Regions from separate parts of the Homo sapiens genome. Here regions 1, 2, 4 and 5 are each linked to region 3. The links are contacts of gene promoters, found by promoter capture Hi-C in blood cells and fetal thymus (Javierre and others, 2016). All regions are on one chromosome and are shown on one strand. The core of a region is centred on a gene start or on the middle of the fragment in contact, and the rest is flanking DNA. Distances in the headings are between cores, read along the strand shown.

Region 1 (3,413 bases), core at 459-2,958, 3.6 Mb after region 3:
ACTACCTCACATATTTTTCATCATATGCTCTCTTAATTAGAATAGCATTCTTGAAATAGAATAAGCACTAACATTAGAAAAAAACAGACTTAAATCAATGCAACAGTTTAATGCTCCCTAAATAAAAACACATCTACATGTATCATGGGCTAGAGACGTTAAAAATTTCTAGGAAGAAAAGCAATATTTGCCTTATAAACACTGCAACTCTTTCCTCTCAACATTAAAACCCAAACATAGAAACCAGTAAGTTAGCTGCATTTACAGCCCCTTACAGGTTTTAAATGTCACATCTCAGTGCCTAAAAAAGTTACTCCATCGTTTCGAGATAAGTTTCTGAGAACAAAGAAAACTCTTTAAACTACTGAACTGCATTTTATTCTTTCCTTTTCCGTGTGACCATCTGCAAAAGCAACAGTTGTCAGTTAAACAGAATCAACCTCTTTCCCGAGTGGACATGATTCACAGCTTGGTCACTGTACAGCAGATGTGAACTGAGAACTACGACATAACACAATGACAAAACACAGTACTGAGCACAAAGTACAGGGAAAGAATGAAAGACAGAAAACAGGAAGAGCACACGTCTGATTTTTGTTTTCTTTGGGGCCCCCATTAGTAGCATTCCCTTCATCCATCTTCATTCAGTGGTTCACTATCAGGGCCAAACCCAAAAGTTACAAAACACCATCTAGCTACTGTCTGGCTGCTTTTATTTTTTCTGCACCAGGACGGGAGCACGCATTCCCCTGCAGTCCTCAGCTCCACCGCAATACTGATACCAAACAGTTTCAGTGGCCCAGCTGCCAAGCCTAACCATTCCTTTTTAAAGCATTTCTTCATCAATCCTACAAAACAGCAAGTTCTTCATGGTATATTTTCCTAGAGCATCTAGCTAATATCATACTTTAACAACTTTTTCCAACGTTAACTGGACATGGGTCATTATCACTTAAGTGTTAGCGCCATTGCCCGCGCCCACTCCCATAATCCACACTGCTTTCCTTCTCCATATTGCCAATCCCCACTAAGCAACCCTAAAATCTAGTAATTATCATCAAATCCACTTCTAGGCCCTGGCAAGAATTATTTGGCTTTACCGAAACACCTATTCCATAGGTAACCAATTCCAGTCAAAAATGCCAGAGTATTACTCCTCAACCCAATGCCCTATCTCCTTAGTGGATTATAAACTTACTACGACAACCTGTCTTCTTTGGATCCAATCCCCGCCCAAGTCTGAGTCTTCTCTCCCAGGCTACAAGCCCCCAAGTCCTGGCAGCTCTATGCTTGACAGCTCGCTGACCTCCACCTCATCAGACCATTGGGTCGCCCTTCTCGCCGTCCTCCAGCCTTCTTCCCGCTCAGACACTCATCCACTGTCCGGGGAGCCTCGACCCCTCCTATACCCCCTCCCCGATCCCGCAGTCCCCTTCTGGACCTTGCGGACCCCTCTCAGGTAAGCGGAGCCCCTTGCCCTGCAGGCCCATCAGTGGTCCTGGCTCCCCGCACCTGCCACCAGGGTTCCCAGGCTGCAAAAACACAAGTAGTTCTTCTTCCCAAGGGCCACCCTCCTCCTCAGGCCGCTTTCCTCAGCACCACGTCACCCGCGCTTCGCCGGGAGACCCCCAACTCACCCCCGCCTCCGCCATCTTCTGGGACCAGCCCCCGTACCCCCTACCGCCTCTTCCTCCTCCACTCCCACAACTCCGCCCGAGCTCCACTGCGCCTGTGCGGCCAACGAGGCCGCGCGCAGGCGATCGGGGCAGAAGAGCTTCCGGTTCCTGCTGTCAATAAGACGTGGACCTGCGAGCCGGGGCAAAAGGGCTTCCGGTCTGCGGGAAACTGGAGGCTAGCGGTGGGCGTGGACCGTCGAGGTGACTGGCGGTTGTCGGATCTGCTGTTGTTTGCTGACCAGGCAGCCGTAGGTAATGACGGATGCCCAGACCCTGTGGGCGGAGTAAAGGAATCATGCACTGATACACGCACACTCACCGAGGGGCGCGTCCGTCTGCGTGCCCCTCATCTCGTAGCCGAAAGGAGCGCGTTCCGGGGCAGGCCTCCGGGTACTTCCCGCAGAGGACCGGGCTTTATACTCTTTGCTCCTTTTCCTCCCCTAGTAAGTCATAACTTATTTTGGGAGAAGGGCATAGTTATTTGTCTCTCGTCTCCATGCTACAGCACTTTATGTGCTTTTCATTCAAAATCGTTCCTCGAGGACGACCAAGTAATGTGATTTGGGGGACAGTTTTCATAGGAAGGGCTTTATAAGTTTACACCAACATAAAGAAAACTTAAAAACCTTATAACCGCTTATTTTTCAGAAGTATTATTTTTCATTTAATCTAAAACCATACTTTTAGAACATGAAACCAAGCCAAACAGATCTTTGCAGATTGTGCAAGCGAACTTTTTTTTTTGAATGAAAGTGGTGCCATCAATGCAAAAGCAAGCCCATATAAGTGCCGAAAGGTACTCGTCATAAGGAGGAGTTGCTTCCCTATTCTGAATTTTTATTTATTTTTATTTATTTATTTATTTGAGACGGAGTCTCTCTCTGTCACCCAGGCTGGAGTGCACTGGCATGATCTCGGCTCACTGCAACCTCTGCCTCCCGGGTTCAAGTGATTCTTCTGCCTCAGCCTCCCCAGTAGCTGGGACTACAGGTACATGCCACCATGTCTGCCTACTTTTTGTATTTTTAGTAGAGATGGAGTTTCATCATATTGGCCAGGCTGGTCTCAAACTCCTGACCTCGTGATTCGCCCGCCTCATCCTCCCAAAGTGCTGGGATTACAGGCGTGAGCTGCCCCCTGAATTTGTTTTTTTTAAGCAACTCTTTTTAAAAAGAGAGAAAAAATAATCTCTCTTGAGTGTATTAGTTATTGAGCTATTCCATTTGGAGGTGGCTTAACCCAAAACGTGTATGGATGTGGTAAGATTACAATGGACTTGAATGTTCTAGATGAAATCTGGGCCGAGAGTAATTGCATAATAGTTTTCCAAAGGACTGTCAGATGGTAAACTCCTTTCATTTACTTTGAACTGATAAACGATAAGATGGATTTTTGTTTTTTGACCTTTTTATCTACATTTACTTCTGAAAATTGAAAAAGAATCTGAATTCCAACAAAATGTTTCTAGGCAAGTATTTGCATGATGCTTCTCTAACATTTCCTATATCTTAGTGTTTTCTCTAATGTTTTCTGTAGCTTTCAAATTTCACTCCTGTAAGTTTTTACACTACCAGTAAGAAAGATCTGGGCCAATTATACAGAATGGACGATGATTTTTAAAAGAATAGAGAAAGCATTCAGAAAAGAGACAATAATTTGAAAATGTTCTGACATCATGTATTTCCTTAAAGCAATACAAGTCCTGTATGTCCAGTTCATGTCTACTCCAACCGAGCT
Region 2 (3,760 bases), core at 175-2,674, 3.9 Mb after region 3:
GAATTCTAGCCTAAACTCAACTTTATAAAGGAACAAAGGCCAAAGGAGGTTAACCTCGTACAGGGCCAATCATTTTCCTATTACAACATAGAATGAGACTCAGAAAAGGACAAACCAAGGAATCCTAGAAGCTGCTAGTGTGCATATAAAATATTTGGTGTCAGGAATGAACAAAAGGAAAAAAACAGGGAACAAAAAGAACTAAAACACCACAAAATAGAAGATAAAGAGAAAAAGCAGCAGAAAGATATAAAAAAAGTTTCTTGTTGATAGTTACTTTTTTCAGGTAAACTGAAAGTCACAACTGAACCTTCAAACCTATAATCCTCTAAGAGAGGCACATTTTAAAGAAGTTACCTCTAGAAAACTTCCTGGACGTTACCTGTCAGTCCCAGGGGCAGACTGGGCACCTCACTCTCATCTTCATCATTATCTGGCTTCTCCACATTATTTTCTGTTTCTTTAGTAGTCTCGGCACTTTCTTCTTCAGATTTCCCTTTGTTTTCAGTTTTTGCTTTTTTCGTATCTTTGGTTTTAAAAGACAAAATCCGAAAAAATTTTTCCTTAAAATAGAATTCCAAATGAGATCAACAAACAGAAGATCTCTGATATAAAGACGTATATTTTCAAAAGCTAAGTATATGCTGTATTAATTTGTTAAGAATTCTGTTTGGTGAAAAATGAGTGGTTGTATTTAAAAACCCAGGGTACAGACAGACTTGGTGACAAAACCTTTTAGGCTTTTGTTCAACTAAACAGTATAAACATACCAATTATAAGTTTCACATACTCCACTGAGGGGAAAGGAAGCATACCTGATTAACATAATCCTTAAAAACTCATTATAAGTAGTCATTTTTCTTCCCACGCCAATCACTATCAAAGGCTCTTCATGTTACTAGAGATAGACTGTAAAGGAAGGGCAACAACCCACTTGCCTGGCTGACATACACTGGACTGTGCCTTGGCTATCAGGGATGAGGGTGGGAGGAAAGGCAGGGCTTCTTCCCACCCTCATTTCTACATTCACAACTTTCATGTGGCCCCAACTACCTTTTCAGTCCTACCTCTCACTTCTCTTTTCAATGTTCGACTCTGGGTCAAATGGATTAACCACATGCTGTGTTTATATAAAACTATATGGCAATTAGTGATGTTTGAAAAGAACTTAGACCACAACCCAGGACTCTCTGTAGCTCAGTACTGGTCTCCTCCCTGTACCTGACGGCCACCCTTCCAGGAAAGAGTCAACTTTGTAGGACCTACATGTTCAAAAGCCACAGATATCTTCAGCTGGTCTCCATGGCTTATTTTGTTTTCCCTGGAATAGTTCCTAAAATGTACCCATAAGGTGGTTGGGTGTGGTGGCTTCTGCCTGTAATCCCAGCACTTTGGGAAGCCGAGGTGGGAGGATCACTTGAGCCCAGGAGTTCAAGACCAGCTTGGACAACACAGTGAGACCCCATCTCATAATAAAACAAACAAACAAACAAACAAACAAAAAACCCATAAGGTTAAAACGCCCAGCATTGTGATTCAATGCTTGGGAGCAGAAATAATACCACTTCCTGGGGCATACTCAAAACAAGAATTGTGAAGGCAATAATTTTAGAACAGGATTACAATGACTTCTGTGTGTAGGCATCATGAAGACAGTAATGCATGTTTGGAAAAGTTCAAAGTCCCTTTCTAAATAAAACCCTTATTTCAGGTAAAATACATGAATAGGATGTTCCAACTCAGGGGCTGGCAAACTTTCCGCAAAGGGCCAGATAGTAAATAGTTTAGGCTTTGCAGGTCATATGATCTCTGTTGCCATAAACACAACCAAATAGGCATTGCTATGACCCAGTAAAACTTTATTTACAAAAACAGGTAGAAGGAGGGATAGTTTGCTGACCCCTATCTTATCCTACCTTGATATCTCTGCTTATACAAATCTCAATTATAATGTCCATTCTTTCATCCGAGCTTACTGAAATTCCATCATCTTCAAAAAACATTCCTTCCTTTTCCTCCTGCCATTCTTAGCACTTGGAAATTAATGTTCCATTTATTCAGAAGTTTCCTACTTTATATACTTTGTAACTAATATTCCTTTCAAAGGGAGGAATTTATGGAAGGAAAATGGGAAGAATCAAGCAGGAAAAAAGGTAACTTAAAAAGAAGAGAAAATTTCTAGAATTCTAAGGAGAGTCTTTTCTGAGAGAGGTTTTCTTCAAGGTTAGTGAAATTAAAAATATATTCCTCAATATTTTGAGAAAAGTTGAAATGGACTCCCCGCTTCTGCCAATAAAATGTTTCCATTAGCTACCAGGCTAATCTCTAACATACTGGTGAGTACAGGGAATTCTCATGTCATGTGCACACAATAGTAATAGAAAGAGGAACAATAACCGTCTGTGAAAAACTAAATGGCTGAAGTTCAAAGATAATAAATACCTACCAGGCTCAGCATCATTCACCATTTTTCTCTTTTTCTTCTTTTTCTTTTTTGATTCTGAATTGGAAGACTGCATTGCTGCTTCTCCATTGGTTAATACAGTGGATTTCTGGGGAGACTTTGTAACTTTTATATTTCCCACTGCTTCTTGAGACATGCCTCCATTTTGAGTTTCTGATAAGCCCACATTCATGGGCTTTTGTTTTGATTTTTTAACCTTTCTACTTCCCATTGTTTCTTCAGATACATCTCCATTTTGAGTTTCCGATAGGGTCAGATTTGAGGCCCCTGTTTAAATAAACAGAACATATACTGTGACAAAGAAGGAGAAGTTTACTTAGAAACACTGAAATCCCAAATGAGAACTTCCATGGCTTCCTGACACAAATTATTTAGATTTTCTTCTCTTTCATGTAATTAAAACAACTTATAGTTTTATGGTGTTCCCTTATAGGGAAAGTAAGTTATCTTAAAGAAAAAATACTGGAAAAGGGAAAGCTATATTGATTTCTTAACTGCAAAAGACCGTACATCTGACTTTAAGGAGTCTAGGACAGGAAAACTTCAATGAGGTCAAATATTTAAACAGATGAGGTCAGATAATGGCAGTTACAGAATAAACATAAGTATTTGATAAACATATGATTAACTGATATATTGAAAAAGACATTTACAACTCATTCACACAAGTACTATTTTTCATACCACTTCAAAACATTCAACCCCAACTCTTCTAGACTGCAGTGAGTTGAAAATTCAGTTGATAAGACCACTTATTTGCTCCAATATTTATCATATGCAAATACAGTAATGCGTGCACAATGACATTTCTGTGAATTAAGGACAACATATACAGTGGCTCCATAAGATTATAACGGAGCTAAAAAATTCCTATCACCTAGTGCCATCAGTAACTGCAATGTCGTAGTGCAACATATTACTCATGTTTGTAGTGATGCTAGTATAAACAAATCTACTGTAATGCCAGTCGTATAAAGTACAGCACACATAATTATGTACAATACATAATACGTGATAATAAACTATGTTACTTGTTTATGTGTTTACTATACTTTTGATCATCATTTTAGAGTTTACTCCTTTTACTTATTAAAAAAAAATGAGTCGACTGTAAAAGAGCCTCAGGGAGAGAGGTATTTTAGAAGGCACTGTTATCATAGGAGATGACAGCTCCATGCCTATTGTTGCCCCTGAAGATCTTCCAGTGGGACAAGATGTGGAAGCGGAAGACAGTGAAACTGAATGTGTCTGTGTCTTTACATTTTTAACAAAAAGCTTAAAAAGAAAAAAAAATAA
Region 3 (3,302 bases), core at 652-3,151:
GCGTGGGAGGCACGTCTGTCAGAGGAAGTGGGCTGGCCTCGCTTGGCACTCCCTCCCAGGGCCTCCACCTCAGGCCCACAGGCCACTCTTCGGGCACACACACCCTGGGCCGCCTTCACGGCTTCCAGAACACGGCCGCAGCTATCCCCTGACACCAGCTGTGCTTGATCTGTCGCTCTCGCCTCACCTCCCTGCTTCCTCGGCAATCCACTCCCCACCCTTCCTCTCCACTCAGTTACTCACTAGTATAATAGTATTTGAAAGGTACAAACAGGCCGGGTGCGGTGGCTCACGCCTGTAATCCCAGCACTTTGGGAGGCCGAGGCGGGTAGATCACTTAAGGTCAGGGGTTCTCGACCAGCCTGGCCAAAATGGCGAAACCTCGTTTCTACTAAAAATACAAAAATTAGCCGGGAGTAGTGGTGTGCACCTGTAGTCCCAGCTAGTCGGGAGGCTGAGGAAGGAGAATTGCTTGAACCCAGGAGGCGGAGGTTGCAGTGAGTGAGCCAAAATCGCGCCACTGCACTCCAGCCTGGACGACAGAACGAGACTCCGTCTCAAAAAAAAAAAAAGAAAAGAAAGATGCAAACAGCCACAGCCTCGCTTTAAACCCGCCCATCCCCTCGCATTTACAAAACCCCAGTTTCATACTTTGACACACAGTCATGGGGCTCCAGCCTGCCGCCTCGCAGCTCTTCCCTCCTGTGCTGGGCTCCAACCCCACTGCCGCGTCCTTCTTTCTAGACCTAGGAACACTGTGCAGGCCTGTCCGGTCCAGCGGACGGCAGGCGCTCGGTTCTCCACACCCCGCTCTTTAGCCTTCAGGCCTCGGTGCTAACGCCACCTCCTAAGGGGGACCCTCCGGCGCCACCCAGTGTGCCTCTCCCCCACAAGCCTCTTTGGTCTCTTAAAGCAGCCATGCTGCCCTCAGGCTGTAAGTTCTCCAAGGGCCGCGGACGGACGGGGCCACACAGGAGAGCTCACACACAAGTGAGTGAAAGAATAACCAAATTAGGGCCGGGCGCGGTGGCTCACGCCTGTTATCCCAGTACTTTGGGAGGCTGAGGCGGGTGGATCACCTGAGGTCAGGAGTTCGAGACCAGCCTGGCCAACATGGTGAAACCCCGTTTCTACTAAACATACAAATTAAGCTGGGAGTGGTAACGTACAAATTAAGCTGGGAGTGGTGGCGGGCGCCTGTAATCAGCTACTCGGAAGACTGAGGCAGGAGAATCGCTTGAACCCGGGAGGCGGAAGTTGGAAGTTGCAGTGAGCCGAGATTGCGCCATTGCACTCCAGCCTGGGCAACCAAAGCGAAACTCTGTCTCAAAAAAAAATAATAATAATAATAAGCAAATTGAGGAATGAGAGCAGCATCTCAAGGACACAGGTACTGTTTTGGAATTTATTTTAGACCTTTTTTGAAAGTAGGCGTGAACGTAATTGTTTCAGGCACTCTTAAGCGAAGCCAGCCGGCGCCCCGACAGCCGAGGGTGCGGGAGCTCCCCACGGCCCAGCCCCAGCCCCAGACCCCGCTGCCGCGCCTCGGCACGCCCCTGCGCCCCGCCTCCGCGCCTCGGCGCTACTCACGCCCCGCCCTCCGCTCCTCGTCACGCCCCATGTCGCGCCTCCGCGCGACTCACGCCTCTCCCAGTCTCTCGGCACGACCTCGTGCCCCGCCCTCGCCCCTGGCGCAATTTATGCCCCGCCCCGCGCCTCGCCACACCCCGTGCCCCGCCCCCGCTTCTCCGGGCAACTCCTGCTCCAACCCCGCGCCCGACTCATGGCCCTCCCCGCCCCTCGCCACGCCTCGCCTCGCCTTAGCGCTTCGCCCCGCCCCTGTCCTGCCTCTACTTCCGCCTCGGGGGAGCTGGGAGCCCGACGTTTCCGGGAGCGCCGCGTGGTTAGCGTCGGCGGCTTTTGGCATGGCGACTTTTTCTGGCCCGGCTGGGCCAATCCTGTCGCTTAATCCGCAGGAAGATGTCGAGTTTCAAAAGGAGGTGGCGCAGGTTCGCAAGCGCATAACCCAGGTGAGCAGGCACCCTGGCCCAGGCTGCGAGCGGGGGCGATGGACCGGGTCTAGAGGGTATCTGGGGTTGCACGGTTTCCGGCCCGGGCGCCCCTTGCCTTCGTGCTCGCCTTCATTACCTCCAGGGTCTCCCAAGTGGATTCGACCGAATCAGGGACCGACCTCTTAAGCTTGCAGGCCACGGTTTCCGAGACGAAAGGGTTTACGCTGTTCGGTAAATGATGGAGGGGTTTGGCCGCTGAGGCCCTGGAGCCTTCATGTGGAGGGTAACGGGGAAGTATTGGGGTGACAGAAGCAGTAGAAAGAACCAGCTGGAGGGAATAGGCTCCTATACCACAGGTTATCTCCGGGTTAGAGCTGTCACGCTTCCGCGTTTCCCCCAAAAATGGGAGCCCCAGACTTAACACATTCGGGAAGTTTGTATGCCGGGTTGGTGATCTGGGAGTTATTAAAATAGAGTATTTGCCAGGTTCCACTTGCTGACTAGGGCCCCTGACATCGCTTATACTTTCTGTGGTTTTTAGCATAAAATACACAGGAAAACTTAGAAGTTCCTGTTACAGAGGTAAGGCTATGATGACTGAGACGTTGAAAGGCTAATCTGTACCGTGAGAGTTAACAAGCGTATCGAAAATTTTTCGATGAAGTGCGAGTAAACAGTAATATGCATACCAAATTGAAGCCTACGTTTATGTAGAGTTCTCTGGGCAGAAGATCTAAAATGGCTTGTTCAAAGATGTCCTTGCTTATCCGTTGATTGACATAGTTATTGAGCTCTAATATTATACTGGGTGCTGGGATGCCAGGCTGGAAAGATAGTTGACTACTGCTTGACCATGGCCTTTGTGGGGAGAGAAACACTAAACAGCCAGTTCTTTAATTACTACTGTGGTAAGTGGAAATGCAGAATAGGTTCTTGGGCCGAGGGCTAGGGGTTTTGTTACAATGTGATTTTCTTATTTATATATTTAATTTACCTGGTCTTTACGTCTTTAGCGAAAAAAACAAGAACAACTTACTCCTGGAGTAGTCTATGTGCGCCACCTACCTAACCTACTTGACGAAACCCAGATCTTTTCATATTTCTCCCAGTTTGGCACTGTGACACGGTTCAGGCTGTCCAGAAGTAAAAGGGTAAGATTTTTGCAGTTGGATTTAATGTTTTGTTTTTCAAATGTGTATTATCCTTGACATTAAAGAGCACGTTCACGCATACATTATTGCTTATCAGATTTCATTCCAAAAAGGAGAGTGGAGGAGGTTTAGAATCTGA
Region 4 (3,769 bases), core at 641-3,140, 4.9 Mb before region 3:
TGTCTCCTGTGCAGCACCTTGCATGCAGTAGGGACTCCCTGGATTAAAATCAAATGCATCAGATTGGACTGGGATGATCTGAATGGTGGGGCTCTTGACTGTATTCACTATAAGTGGATGAAAAGTTCAAGGCTCAGGGCTCAGGTCACCTGCTACACAAGAGGTCCCTGCAGACTTGGAACTTAGAAAAGGACTCCACAGGCCAGGCGTGGTGGCTCATGCCTGTAATCCCAGCACTTTGGGAGGCCAAGGCGGGCGGATCACCTGAGGTCGGGAGTTTGAGACCAGCCTGACCAACATGGAGAAACCCCGTCTCTACTAAAAATATAAAATTAGCCAGGCGTGGTGGTGCATGCCTGTAATCCCAGCTACTCGGGAGGCTAAGGCAGGAGAATTGCTTGAACCTGGGAGGAAGAGGTTGTGGTGAGCCGATATCATGCCACTGCACCCCAGCCTGTGCAACAAGAGCGAGACTCCATCTCCAAAAAAAAAAAAAAGAAAAAAAAAAGATATCCAGATCATGTGATAGGCAATGCATGTAGGAGTCATGTCTGGAAACTGACCCAAATATTTAACTGCTGGGGTATGATTGGGGAAGGTTGTTTCTGTTTTCTTTACTGATACACTCCAGAGGGATTCATTGCAGAAGGGTATGGGAGACTTAGTGCTGAACCCAAACCAAAAATAAGCAAAACAGCCTTGCTGAATTCTCTAAATCCACGTATCTCTAAATCCTCTGTCTCTAAATCCTCTGTCTGCTAGGTGGGGTCTGATGGCTACAATGACCTTGAGTGACAAGCAGACAGAAGAGGCTATGAGGAGATATTCTACATGGCAGATGCTCTACACTGAGCAAAGAAGTGGGAACAGAGTCCTAAAAATAGTGGAGTAGAAAAAGTTTCAAAAGCATGTGGCACCTAACACCCAAGGCCAAAAGATGTTGTAGGCAGCAGTTCTTACATTTGTTTCTAGTTATCTCTGGGAGGTCAGTAGGATCCATGCACCAAATGCCTGTCTGCCCTGTCCCGAACCAGATCCCCAAGTGTCTGCCTCAGGTCTGGGGCTGATACCTGTCTGCTGCTAAGAAACGCAAGGAGATGGTGTGTAGGAAGAAATGTGTGTGTGCTTGTGTGTGTGCGTGCATATGTGTGTGTGTGTGTGTGTGTGTGTGTGTGTGTGTGTGTGTGTGTGTGTAGGGAGGGAGGGGAGGGGGGCAGGAGAATGGAAGGCCAGCATCACAGTTTCTTACTTGCAATGACTCTTCAGCCTCAGCCCCTCCCACTTAAGAATGATGAATGAGTTTCAGTGGCCTGAACAGTACACTCACAAAGGAGACAGGGACCGAGGACTGGTCCAGTCTGGCTCCTCTATTGCAACCTGGTTGTGTAAATTCTGCCAAGTCACTGAACTTTCCTGAGGTCTGCTTTATTTACCTGCAAAAGAGGGAGACTAGTATGTCTCGAATGAAGAGTGGAAACAGATTTGAAAGTGCCTAGCAAAGTGTAACAGAAATTGCAGTCATGCAGTGACAATGATCCTCCGGCTGGCTTGTTGTACTTTAACACAGAATAAAGTTGCCAGCCCAGGGGTGGTTCCACGGTGGAGGCATTCCAGGAATTGGCCAGGAGTTGGTGGGGGCATTATTCTCTCCCAGTGCCCCTGTAGTGACCTTGGGAGGCAGCTGCCCACTCCTTCCCCGGGGGAAGAGTGGGTTGGCCTGGGCTGGCAGGACTGTCACAACCCAGCCCTTGTGTACCACTCTGAGCACTGCATTCGCAGCTGCTGGGACACAGGTGGGTGCCTGCGGAGGACGGCAGAGGGAACACAAGTGGTTCCGGGTGTGGGGGGAACAAAGAAAGGCCTTTTCTTCAGAGGCCAGGAGAGCGACCTCAGGGCTGTAACGATCTGAGCAGAAGGGCAAGGGGTCATGGGCAGCCCCCTCCCAGCAGGGCAGGCTGCAGAGTCCCAGAGCTGGAGGAAGACACACCTGGCTTCCAGGAGAGAGCGTGTCAGTGATGCACAGGGAAGCACTGGGGAAATCACCTCTTTGAGCCTCACTTTTTGTCTTCCTAAACTGGAATTAATAATATCTGCATCTGTGTGATGCCTTCAGCATTAAAGGAGGCACTGTGTGTGTTACACGTCCTCACTAGGTGCGGAGCAGGGCAGAGTGGGCGCTTGCCAGGGCGTGCACAGCCCCAGGCACCTGTGCCGAGTCTGCTGTAGTGCTTTGCCCTGCGTCGGCATCCCTTGGGCCCCCATCTGAGGTGATCAATGCACCCAGAGGGTCTCCAGGGCTCCCTTCTGGGCCCCTCACAGGGTGGCCTCTTTACACTGATGTCCTCCAGCCTTATCTGTGCCCTAATCTCCCTTCGAGCTGCCACTGGGTGATCATCTATCTGTCCCATGAATCGGTGGTTCCCCCTTACCTATGGGGGATGCTTTCCAAGACCCCCAGCGGATGCCTGAAACCAGAGATACGACTGAACCTTACATACATGATAGTTTTCCTATATGCGAATAACTATGATAAAGTTTATTTTATAAATTAGACACAGTAAGATATTAACAACAATGAATAATGAAGTAAAACAATTGTAACAACGTACTCTATAAAAGTTATATGAACTAGTCTCTCTCTCTCTCTCAGTATCTTACTGTACTGTACCTTAGGTAACTGAAAGCTCAGATCAGGGCAAGAGATTGTATCTCAAAGTCACCCTCTTCCCCATAGAGATTCTTCCTACATCCTTCCTCTTGATCTTGTTCCTACAATTCTACAATGAACATGAATTGCTTCTGCAATAATGAAATAGGGCAAAGACAACTTATTTTTAAACTTGTAAGTGAAGAGTAGCCTATTCTTCTGACTTAAAAGGCCAAAAGAGTAAGAGAAAGATAGAGACAGAAAATGAGAGAGACACAGAGAGAGAGAGAGAGAGAGAGAGAGAAAGACAGCAAGTAGTGCATGACCTGAGCCTCCCTAGCATCTACTCCAGCTGTGTTAGTGAAGTCCCACAGGGAGAGGTAGAGGCTGCCCCTGCAGATGCCCAGCCCAGGGAGTCCTCCCGTGACAGACAGAACTGCTAAGGAACCAGGACTGCCAACGTAGAGGAGGATCAGAGCCCTGGGAGCAAGGGGCAGATTCAGGCAGGGAGAGCAGAGGCAGTGGGCTTCAGCCCCTCAACCTCCAATGGGCTGAGCTCAGGTCACAGGGTGACTTCCATGGGCCAAGGTGCTTTACCTTATGGGTCCCTTCTCCTCCCAAATATTAGAAATCATATTGTATAGCTGCACTGGTATAAAGGCAAATGTACTATTTGATCTTAGAGGTTCATTTCCTTCCTTCTGATTTTAAAAGAAGCTCTAATACTGTTGTGGGCCTCTAGAAGCACTGTGGTCTCTGAGCACTGCGTCTGGGGTCAGGCCCTGGCTGAGCTTTCAATGTAGAGGGGGAAGAGAAGGAGGTGTGAGGGGCTGGTAGGTTCTCTGGAAGTCACATCCACTTGCTAGTTTCGGTATCATCACATGCAAAATGGAGATAAAAATACCTCCCTGGGGCTGCCAGAGGGCTAAATGAGATGGCGTCTGTGGAGTGGAGCCTCATCTCTACTCTCTGAGACAGGGCTACTGTCACCAGATGAGGAGGATGGCTCAGGATAGTGTAAAGAATCAGTGACAAAGAAAAAAAAAAGACTATGAAAATTTTTTAAAAAGGGAATACTCAGGATTTTCAACCATAACTGAAATTAATTTCGCTAAAATGAGA
Region 5 (3,316 bases), core at 68-2,567, 3.7 Mb after region 3:
GCCAGATATTCTGCGGATAGTAAATGCTCTGATTTAGGATGAGAGAGAGATCGCTATGCAATGAAATCTTTTAATTCAGCAGAACCTTGAATGATGATGCACAAATCATAGTAATAGGTGTTGAGGACACAGAGAAAAAACAGAGGCACAGTTCTCAAAGAGCCCAATTTCTGTAGAGTGGGGATGAGAGACAAGTGAATCAACATGCACAGAATAAATGGCATGATGCAGAAAGTGCCACCGTGGACTGTGCACAGAAAGGACGCATTCAAATCACACAGGGCAGGCTGTGGAAGACAGTGCTGAGTGCTCCACGGGGTCACAGTCCTGGCTGTGCCTAACAGAATCACTCTGGGTTATTTTATAATACAGAACCCAGGATTCACTCATTGAAATTTTGGTTAGCTAGGTCTGGGCTTGGGCCCTGGAATCTGCATTTTTATTGGGCAACTTGTAAGAGTCTAAAGCAGCCAGGGGTAAGATTTACTGTTTTTGTTGTTGTTGTTTGTTTGTTTGTTTGAGATGGAGTCTCTCTGCTGCCCAGGCTGGAGTGCAATGGCTCAATCTTGGCTCACTGCAACCTCTGCCTCCGGGATGCAAGTGATTCTCCTGCCTCAGCCTCCCGAGTAGCTGGGATTACAGGTGCCTGCCACCATGCCCGACTAATTTTTGCATCTTTAGTAGAGAGGGGTTTCACTGCGTTGGCCAGGCTGGTCTCAAACTCCTGACCTCGTGATCCACCCGCCTCAGCCTCCCAAAGTGCTGGGATTACAGGCGTGAGCCACCGCGCCCAGCCTTATTGTTATTTTTTTCTAATATCAAGCTGTGTCTGAAAAGGATTTTGTTTCAAAATGGGTTTTTAGTCTTACTCTCATTTGCATCTCAGAGAATTCCTGAGGGAAAAGTAGAGCCAGGGATTCTCAGGTAGATAAGAAAAATAAGATGTATGGAAACAAAATGTCAGCCTTGCTGCCCATGTGTCTGGTCTATAAAACACAGAATTAATGTCTGTCCTTTTGACTATAAAGAGGATCTATGTACAGTATGTTCATTTAATAATAAAAGTCAGCTCCTCAGTCATGCCAGCCACATTTCAACTGCTCAGCAGCCACATGTGGCTAGTAGCTACTGTACTTGTCCTTGCAGATAACGGAATATTTCTGTCACTGCAGAAAGTTTTCTGTAACGGTGCCATTTTAGATTAATTGTACTTGATGGGGTAAGGAGGACACACACTCTCTCTCTCAAGATATATAATTTTGTATGTTTACTGAGTCTATTAGAGCTATTTATAATCCATCTACCTTCCACTTCTTCCATTCTCCCCAAACTAAAAAGAGAAAACAAATATTTTCTTTATGTCTTGCAGGTAGTAGGAGGAATGACTTGGTGTATCACCACTTGCAACTTTGATGTAGATGTTGATTTGCTCTTTCAAGAAAACTCTACGATAGGTCAAAAAATGTAAGTTTTTCTATGGAAAACCTAAAGGTGGGGAGAAGGGAACTAACTTTTGAGTGTCTACTGTGTGCCAGAAGTTGGTTGGACACTTTACATAGTTTATTTTAACTTTTATTACAAGAGGTATTATCCCTGCCTTACAAATGAAACTGAGACTGAAAGAAGCCAAGGTCACACAGCTAGATCAAAGTTTGTAGTGACTACTTAGTTTATCTTTCAAAGACAGCTCATATCAGTGGAAGTTGATTAGAAAGAGGAAAGGAGATGCTTTCCTTCCCCATTGCCTCTGTGTAAGGCAGAGTCTCACTTTGCCTGTCTTCGAGAGAAAGCAGCATGGTCTCCTTGCTAGAGATCTCACCTGAGCATACCCTGCCCAGTCTTTTGTAGCACAGCAGCTCACCAGGGGCTTGGCCATTTCATTAGACCACTTGGGATACCTGGTTCTTCTCCCAGCCTTCCAGTGGGTCTCTGTGTGGCCTTGGAACAGCCACTCCTTCTGTGGGCCTCAGTTCTTTTATCCGTCAGAAGAGAGATTCCTGACCTCAGATATGTGTGATTCTGTGACAGTCTGTTTATTCATTTTTCTGAAGTATTACCTTCTCCCAAGAGAAAACACTTCCAAAAGGAACAAAGGGGTCTTATAAATAACAGGAAGCAATAATGGTGGGAAAATGGAGCAAAGGGGGAAAAAAAAGTGGGGACAAAAGGCAGAGTTGGGGTAAGACTGCCACAGTGATGGGTCACAAAATGCTTTGTTTTCCTACTGTTGGCCAAAGATTTGCCCCTGTGTTTCTGGCAGCCAAGTGGAGGTGGTATCTGTGAGTAACTGAGCATCAGGAATGTTGCAATTTACTTTATATTTATACAGCATTTTCCCTGTAAGTTTCTAATTGCCTTTGTTTTTTTCTTGTTGACAAAAGAAGCATATGCCTTTAGCTGTAGCTCAGATCAGCCAGCTTTTTTTTTTTTTTTGAGACAGAGTCTCACTCTTATCACCCATGCTGGAGTGCAGTGGTGCCAACACCACTCACTGCAGCCTCGACTTCCTTAAGTGATCCTCTTACCTCAGCTTCCTGTGTAGCTAGAGCCACAGGCATACACCACCACGCCCAGCTAATTTTTAAATTTTTTGTAGGGATGGTGTCTCACCATCTTGTCCAGGCTGGTCTTAAAACTCCTGGGCTCAGGCAATCCTCTCGCCTTGGCCTCCTGGGATTAGAGGTGTGAGCCACCGCACCTGGCCTATGCTTCTTAATCAGGCTGTTCATTAGCATGAATTCTTTGTCTTCTTGAGGATGCTTTTCTTGGAAGCTTCTGTCTTTGAGCTGATTGCTTCCTATACCTGTGGCACTCTTGATGTGCTGGTATTTCTTTTCATTGCATTTTTTCTGTGCTAGTTTTACCATTTCTTGGATCCCACGTGTGCTTTTTTCCTAAATTCCCCTTGAGTTTTCCAGTGGTCGTTAGGCCCTGTTTTCATTTCGATATCCTTAGGGAATATGGTAGACTCCCATCAGTGGCAGCATTCCATTATACTTTTAATAGATATGGGAACACAGTATTTTTCTATGTCTTCTCAATTCCTTGTCTATATTTCTGAAATCTAAAAGACACTGAAAACTGTTTTTTCTTCTTTTAGGTTTAGATACAAAGCTTATTTGGGAGCAAAACATAACCTGAATTGACTGAATTTATAGCTTTATTGATCCCACTTATGTGACTATTTATAAGTTTTGCTAAATAAATTTTTTTTTATTATAGAGTGTGACTCTAGATTTTCCTGGGTTCTTACATAATATATAATATGTATCCCTTAGGTATTCTAAGGAACTAAATCTAAAAAATTCAGAATTCT

What was found. Contacts are between HindIII fragments. The CHiCAGO score rates a contact against its expected background, and 5 or more counts as called.
Region 1: the fragment with the promoter of INSIG2 here is called in contact with the fragment with the promoter of NIFK in region 3 in 1 of 17 cell types (neutrophils); the score reaches 7.2 in neutrophils.
Region 2: a contact is called between a fragment that was not itself captured here and the fragment with the promoter of NIFK in region 3, in 2 of 17 cell types (non-activated CD4 T cells and total CD4 T cells). The highest score is 14.1, in non-activated CD4 T cells.
Region 4: a contact is called between a fragment that was not itself captured here and the fragment with the promoter of NIFK in region 3, in 3 of 17 cell types (naive CD8 T cells, non-activated CD4 T cells and activated CD4 T cells). The highest score is 6.6, in naive CD8 T cells.
Region 5: a fragment that was not itself captured here is called in contact with the fragment with the promoter of NIFK in region 3 in 2 of 17 cell types (total CD4 T cells and naive CD4 T cells); the score reaches 5.7 in total CD4 T cells.

What each region holds. Positions count from the first base shown.
Region 1 is chr2:118,086,766-118,090,178 of GRCh38, reverse strand. INSIG2 (insulin induced gene 2) reads right to left here and starts at 1,708. Exons shown (of 6, transcript NM_016133.4): 1 at 1,638-1,708. LOC107985940 (a long non-coding RNA gene) reads left to right here and starts at 1,748. Exons shown (of 3, transcript XR_001739662.3): 1 at 1,748-1,928. RefSeq lists enhancers at 1,754-1,943, 1,954-2,003. The HindIII fragment of the contact is 7,859 bases long and covers 1-3,413 here.
Region 2 is chr2:117,816,415-117,820,174 of GRCh38, reverse strand. DDX18 (DEAD-box helicase 18) reads right to left here. Exons shown (of 14, transcript NM_006773.4): 2 at 2,447-2,731; 3 at 383-526. Among named protein-coding and RNA genes, the nearest start is that of DDX18, 3.6 kb to the right of the region's middle. The HindIII fragment of the contact is 4,634 bases long and covers 1-3,741 here.
Region 3 is chr2:121,735,474-121,738,775 of GRCh38, reverse strand. It overlaps NIFK (nucleolar protein interacting with the FHA domain of MKI67), which reads left to right and starts at 1,901. Exons shown (of 7, transcript NM_032390.5): 1 at 1,901-2,030; 2 at 3,026-3,163. The coding sequence starts at 1,926. RefSeq lists a silencer at 1,415-1,864 and an enhancer at 1,965-2,014. The HindIII fragment of the contact is 3,379 bases long and covers 1-2,201 here.
Region 4 is chr2:126,664,134-126,667,902 of GRCh38, reverse strand. The region is part of intron 1 of GYPC (glycophorin C (Gerbich blood group)); the gene reads right to left. Among named protein-coding and RNA genes, the nearest start is that of GYPC, 9.9 kb to the right of the region's middle. RefSeq lists a silencer at 1,228-1,277 and an enhancer at 3,202-3,361. The HindIII fragment of the contact is 7,282 bases long and covers 1-3,769 here.
Region 5 is chr2:118,004,870-118,008,185 of GRCh38, reverse strand. It overlaps CCDC93 (CCC complex scaffolding subunit CCDC93), which reads left to right. Exons shown (of 24, transcript NM_019044.5): 3 at 1,370-1,464. Among named protein-coding and RNA genes, the nearest start is that of CCDC93, 7.5 kb to the left of the region's middle. The HindIII fragment of the contact is 2,915 bases long and covers 1-2,774 here.